2 separate regions of the Homo sapiens genome follow, and region 1 is linked to region 2. The links are contacts of gene promoters, found by promoter capture Hi-C in blood cells and fetal thymus (Javierre and others, 2016). All regions are on one chromosome and are shown on one strand. Each heading gives the region's core, a stretch centred on a gene start or on the middle of the fragment in contact. The rest is flanking DNA. Distances are from core to core; before and after follow the strand shown. Region 1 overlaps HPSE2 (heparanase 2 (inactive)). Region 2 holds the start of LOXL4 (lysyl oxidase like 4).

What was found. Contacts are between HindIII fragments. The CHiCAGO score rates a contact against its expected background, and 5 or more counts as called.
Region 1: a fragment that was not itself captured here is called in contact with the fragment with the promoter of LOXL4 in region 2 in 1 of 17 cell types (naive B cells); the score reaches 5.7 in naive B cells.

The regions. Positions count from the first base shown.
Region 1 is chr10:99,231,189-99,234,207 of GRCh38, forward strand. HPSE2 (heparanase 2 (inactive)) reads right to left here. Exons shown (of 12, transcript NM_021828.5): 2 at 1,160-1,317. Among named protein-coding and RNA genes, the nearest start is that of HPSE2, 3.2 kb to the right of the region's middle. RefSeq lists a silencer at 2,974-3,019. The HindIII fragment of the contact is 1,234 bases long and covers 954-2,187 here.
Region 2 is chr10:98,266,836-98,269,953 of GRCh38, forward strand. It overlaps LOXL4 (lysyl oxidase like 4), which reads right to left and starts at 1,359. Exons shown (of 15, transcript NM_032211.7): 1 at 1,297-1,359. LOC124902489 (a long non-coding RNA gene) reads left to right here and starts at 1,607. Exons shown (of 2, transcript XR_007062260.1): 1 at 1,607-3,118. RefSeq lists enhancers at 305-806, 807-1,306. The HindIII fragment of the contact is 15,496 bases long and covers 1-3,118 here.

The sequences.
Region 1 (3,019 bases), core at 321-2,820, 960 kb after region 2:
TCCAATACCTCTCCAGAAGTACTTTTCAATGAAGGCCCAAGAAAATACAAGGGCATTTGCTCCTTTAGCTGATTTGTAAGGACAAGATATAACAAAATTCAGAAGGCTCTGAAAATCTGTCCCTGAGCCCTTTACATATAAAACTAGTTTACTTATAAGAAGGAACAGCAACGGGGATGATAGCCCTCCAAGAATGGACACTAATGCCTCTTCTATCCAATCTTAACAGTGTCAATAGCTCAAGAAACGCCAATACCCTCCATCGTGCCTCTTTGAAAGTACATCCCTCCACTTAAACAGGAAGTTCATAGATGTTAACACCTAACCTTCTAAACAAAAAATTTTCAATAGCATTTTCATTTTTTATCCCTAGTAAAAATGAGACCGTTCAAACCAAAAAAGATTGGCCTCTCAGATTGAAATAAGATTTCAAGTTTTCAAAGCCCTTCCAACACTTATCTAATCCCGTCAGGAAAGAAAGCTGGCATTTGTAATCCCATTTTAAAACAGAAAAAAAAAAATGCAACTCTGAGATTAGGCAATCTGAAGAAGAACTAACTGTGGAGATTTCCAAACCTTCCTCAACAAGGGACCAATTTAAAAGGGATTATTCCAGAAAACTTTAGAGTGGGTTTCAAAAACGGCTGAATTCCTTCTGTACCCTAATCACAGGAAGGCAAGAAATAAGAAAAACAGAAAGGCACTTTGCCTAGAATTTTAGCAATGAAATATGACTCTGACCTTTAATAATCTATGAACCTGGCTGAATTTTCTCAAAAAACCTGCTGCATCTACACCCCGCAGGAACAGCCTGTTAAGCAGTTTGGGCTACCAGCTCTCAGCCTCCAAGACAGCCGCCCAGCAAAAGGCCGGCAGCTGGGTGAGAACAACCTGGAGAACCCCCTTTGCGCAATGAGGTCAGGAGTTCCACACTGCAGTGTCTCCTCATCTGAAGCTTCCAACTTTTCATTTTCAGGCGAGGTGCAACCAGGCTCTCCAAATCTGCCCCAACGCGCGCGCGCGCATACACACACACACACACACACACACACACACACACACACACACGAACACACAGACACACGAACACACAGATACACAAACACAGCGGGTGCTTGCTTCCGCTCCCCAAATAAAGAATGGTAATCAAGTTTCTCACCATCCTCATAGTTTTTGAGATAGTAATCCGGGCCCGGGCCCCCGCGGCTTTTCGCCGGGTTCCTCAGGTTCTGGAACTGCAGGAAGTCGGTCCTTTTGCCCCCGAAGCGCAGAAAGGCGGGCGAAAGTCCCCGGGCCAGGGTCACCAAGCGCTTGGAGCTGCAGAGGAAGAGAATAAGAGAGGAAAGGTTCCCAGGACAGGACGAGAGCGCGTGGGGCACGGAGAAGGGCCCTCTTCCTACTCCCTGAGGGCGACCTGGCCGGGGCTAGAGGCTCTGTGCCTGCCCCAGCCGGCAGTCCACGCTGGCCCTTGGCCGCTGCCCTGCGCCCCAGCCCGCCCTCACCGCCCGGCTCTGGGGGCTGTGCCTCCCGCTTCCAGACGCCCGCAGCGGCCCCCTCCCGCAGACACCCAGATCCTGATCTCCTAAAGGCTACAGATAGTGTTTGTTCATAGAGTGTTTGTATGGGGTGGGTGTACGTGCTACGAGCACGGCGCTAAAGCGCAGTTGCCCGGCTTCTGCCACTGCCAGGAAAGCGCTCCGGGCGGAGACGCGCTAGGCGCGCCTACCTCTGGCTTCCGACCGTTGCCAAAAACTTGTATGCTGAAAGCCGGCATTGCCTCCGCAGCCCCAGGGGCCCCACAAACCTCCGTGCAGGAGGTGAAACCTGCCTTGTTTCTCTCAGACCAGGCCCGGCGCCTGAGCTTAAGTGGATTCCTACTTTCTTTCTTTTAATGTCCGAGTTGATTTTCCTTTTTCACTATATTGTAAAAACTGCATTGTTTCCCAAATCCCCGGACGGAGAGATCCCCAGGGTAAACCCTCGCCTTTCCAAGAACACTTCTCCACTCCCGCACCACCACCACCACCACCACACACACACACAGTAAAGGCAAAGTCTCTTTGGCCCCTGAAATAATTCCGCCTGATCTCAGGAAAGGTAACATCCTCCTCCCCACCCCACCCCCGAGTTAGGCTCCATCTTTCTTCTTTCCCACTTGGGGCCGTTTGGAACCGCTAGGGAAAATGAAGCTTGCCGAAATGTGGAACCTGCGCGTTATGGGATACTAAATGAGCACAAAACAATAGCATTTGCATCTATTTAAGGTCAGGATTTCCATCAATAGGTTTTTTAAAAGCCAAAGGCTGCTGCTTTGGGAAGGAGTAGAAAAGGAGCAATGCAGATACTGATAATGCAGAGGGGATCAGCTGTTGAGTTCCGGGTCTGTAAATTATTTTTTAACGCTTTACTGTTTCAGATTCTGAAAACCCAAATCCACATGGTGACGTTAAAGAGCATCATAAAGGAGGTGGATACGAGAAAGAAAAAACAGACTCTGCTTTTGGAGAGTTTTTTGAGAAGAGACGTGGCTACCCCAGGGTCTTGTAACCAGAATGGTCGTTTGGCAGAAGTCTCCGGGACCGCACTCCAGGACAGGCACAGTCAGGGCGTCGCGTGGGCCTACTGTGGCAAAGGAGACGTCCGCGCGAATCCGGTCCTGGGGAAAGGGCAGTTCCAACAACCTTTCATCCAGAAGCCTGCACAGCCAATGCGAATGCGCCCCGCCAGGACTTCTTCCCCGAAAATCTGCCTTCCAGACTCTTTTCTGAGGCAGGAAAGCATTAGGCGAACAGGCAGATTTTTTAAAAAAAGAAAGAAAGCTGGTGGGGGAAAGGGGGTCTGCGCAGCTGAAGGAGTTCAATGAAAGTGGGACAAGCGTTGCGGAAAACTCCGTTGCACCCTACATTCGGACGAGCTCATAGACGCGCTCTGCTGCACGAAAGAGCTTTCGAAGAGGAAGCTGGGCCGCGCGGAGCTGGCTGTTCCGCCCTCGCGGCAACCGCACCAACAGGAACCGAAA
Region 2 (3,118 bases), core at 109-2,608:
TTCCACAAAGCACATTGTGTGTTTGCTTCCTGACCCCACAACCAGACTCCACCTGTCTGTTCCCCTAGCACTGAGCACAGAGGACCAAGCTGTGCATCCTCCCTCAGAGAAGGAAGCGGCCTCGAAAGTGGCCGTTACTTTCCCAAATAAAGGAGAAGGGGACAGAAGAGGGAAGGAAGGTGGAAGGGAAAGAGGAGGGGAGGGAAGTGAGGATAATAACTATACATTTTAAAATACGGATTAAATACTTATCTCCATTTTACAGATGAGAAGGTAAGGTCCAGGGAAGTCAAGTAACTTGCCCAGCCAGGATTCAAACCCAAGCAGCCTGGCTAGACGCCGGACTCTCAAAACCACCAAGAATGGATGTTGGAAGAGGGGGAGGAGGAAAGGAAGGCCGGGAGCCGACTGAAATTCCACCCTGTTCTGGTGGATTTATGACCCAGGCCGTGGTGTGAGGGCACTGGGCAGGGTGCTCTTCGCTGAATGCCGAGTGACAGATCCAAGATCTTGCCAGCTTGAGGCACAGAGGCACCTGCTCCAGGTGTGCCAGGAGATGCTGGGACCTGGCCTGACCTAGCGCAGGTAGGGAGGGCTGAAGACAGCAAATGCCCGAGTATTCAAGAGAGAGCATGGGGGGTGCTGTCCTGAGGGTGCAGCAACTTTAGGATGGCTCATCCCTTCTCTGCCGTTGGGCAGCTCTTCTCAGCAGCCTCCTCTCAGCCCTGTAGCCTCCCCGGGGTTACTGACTCTGTGGACCTGAAGCAGTGCCAACAAATGGTCTCTGAGCTGTACCTGTCCAGGCTAGGAAAGAGGGGGCTTGAAGTCTTCTGCCCCCTTCCCTTCGGTGTTTCTGTCACACGCCGACCCCCCAACATAATCAGCTCCGGTCTGGATAGTTGGAGAGCCCAGATCAGCCCTGGTTCGTTGTCCCCCAAGTCGTAAGTGTGACATCTGAACCCGCCTTGCCCCTTCCCTGTCTCCTCCCTGGAAGAAGGCAGAGCAATGGTTACACACGGCGTGTACACAAACAAGACACGCAGGCACCCCTGAGGCCTGGGCGCACCACTCAGGGCGGGCCTTGGGCCAAGCTCCCCAGCGTGGTCACTTGTCCAGTTGGAAGCAGGTTGGTGAGCGACTGGAGGGCCGGGCTGAGGGTCCAAGGGATCCCCCATGCACCCTAGGCCCAGTCTCCAGGAACCCTCAGAGGCCTGCAGACTCACAGAGAGACAGAAGGACAGATGGGACAGCAAGAGGCAGACCAAGAGGCAGACGCGCGGCCAGGCGGGGGCTCACCAGATGGAGCGCGGACAGTCCGGGGCTGGGCGGGCGCCGCGGCGGAGCAGCGCTAACGGGCTCCCTCCCCGGGCGCCCTGGGGCCTTTTTATCCGCCTCCCGCCCGCGGCCCCCCAGCCCCGAGCTGGCCGCGGAGGAGGCCCCGCAGGCCCCGCCCCGGGCGGGCCTGGAGTCCGCGGGCGCCCCGCCCGGCCTTCCGCGCGGCGCCCCCCGTCGGGACACAGGCCAGGTGGCGGGGGCGCCCAGCCGCAGCCGGCGGGGCCGGGAAGTCCCGGGGGGCGGGGGGAGCGGGGGGGCGGCGGGGGGTCGCGGGGAGCGGAGCTCTCGGGAAAGGGCGGCGCTGGGCCCGCGGCTGTTTTGCAGGGAGGGCCGCGGCGGCCTCGGGAGTCCCTCTCCCAGGCAGTTTCCTCTTTTGCAGAACAAGGTAATGACGCCCACCTAGAGTCCCAGTCTGTGAGTCCTGGTGGGTGCCAGGGCCCCCGGCACAGCACCCTTCGCACGGGAGCGCCCGGCTGTCACAGGGGCCGAATCTCACGAGCTCGGTCACTTAGGACAATGTAGACGCCCTTTCTGGGAGGCCGGGGCTCAGTTCAGAGAGGTCGAGGTGGCGCGGTGCAGCGGTGCTCTCCTGCAGGAACAGGCGAGTCACCCAGAGTTTACTGAATACCGCCCCCCCCCCCCCCCCCGCCCTCCGTGTGAAACTCTGCGCTGCCCATTGTGCAGCTGGGAACACTGAGCCCCAGGCGACATAACTTGCTCCTCCAGGCAATACACAGTGAATGGGAGAACCCCTTCACAGAGCTGAATGATGCAGTCCTGGCCCTTGTCAGACTCACGGGAGGAGGGTGTTAGTGCAGGGAGCAGGGACTGTAGAATTAAAGAAATGTGGACATGGCTGACAGAGAGGAGTCCCATCAGCTGAACTGAGCACCTAGGTGCCTGAACCCCAGTCCAAGCCCCCAGTTTCTTTCCCCTAGACCTGGTCCTGCCCTTAGCCTCACTGGCCCCATCTGTAAAATGGGCAGAGGGTTCCAGCCTCCCGGTTTCCTCCCTAGGCCCACAGCTGCCCAACCTGGTTCCCCCTCTTGCCCCCACCTTGCCTAAACGTCCTTCCAAAGGTTCATTCATCCCACAAGCCTTTATTGATTTTCTCCTACATGCTAGACAGGGTGCTGGAGTGCTAGACGCTGGAGGGGGCCTTCCCAGTCTGGTGGGGGAGGCAGATGTGCAAGTAAGAATAAGCCTGGACAGGCAGAGTGTGATAGAGCTAGGATGTCAAGATGGACCTTTTCGATCCTGGGTGACAGCCAGGTCTTAATGACCCTGCTGCCAGGGACCTGCCATCCACTCCTGGCTGCCCGTGTCCAAGATGTCCCCCCAGTGCCCCTGCCCCACCCCAGCTGGGCCCAAAACATTCCCCATGATGAATCAGCAGGAAAGAATGCTCCCAGCCTCGGGTCAGTGGCAGCAGCCCAGCTCCTCCCCCAGGGACAATGAGGCAGCTGTGGGCTTGGGTGCCAGGTATGCCTAAGCCCTCTCCTAGGGCCCAGCCACCTCTCATGCTGAGCCAGAAGCAACACAGAGGGTTCGGAAACGTGGGCTCTGCCTGCTGCCAATCACTCACCAGGCCTGGCTGCCCAGAACTAAAAATACCCTGGAGCGCAGGGGCGGGCGGAGGATAGAGACCAGGGAATGAATGGATGTTGCCCGGAAGTCCTTTAATTTGCACAACTCTGGGCAGAGGCCAAGGCTGGGAAGCAGTGGAAGTGGGGATCTCTAAGGCATGCGCTGTGAGCCCCCAACCCTGAGAAGTGAGGGGCTC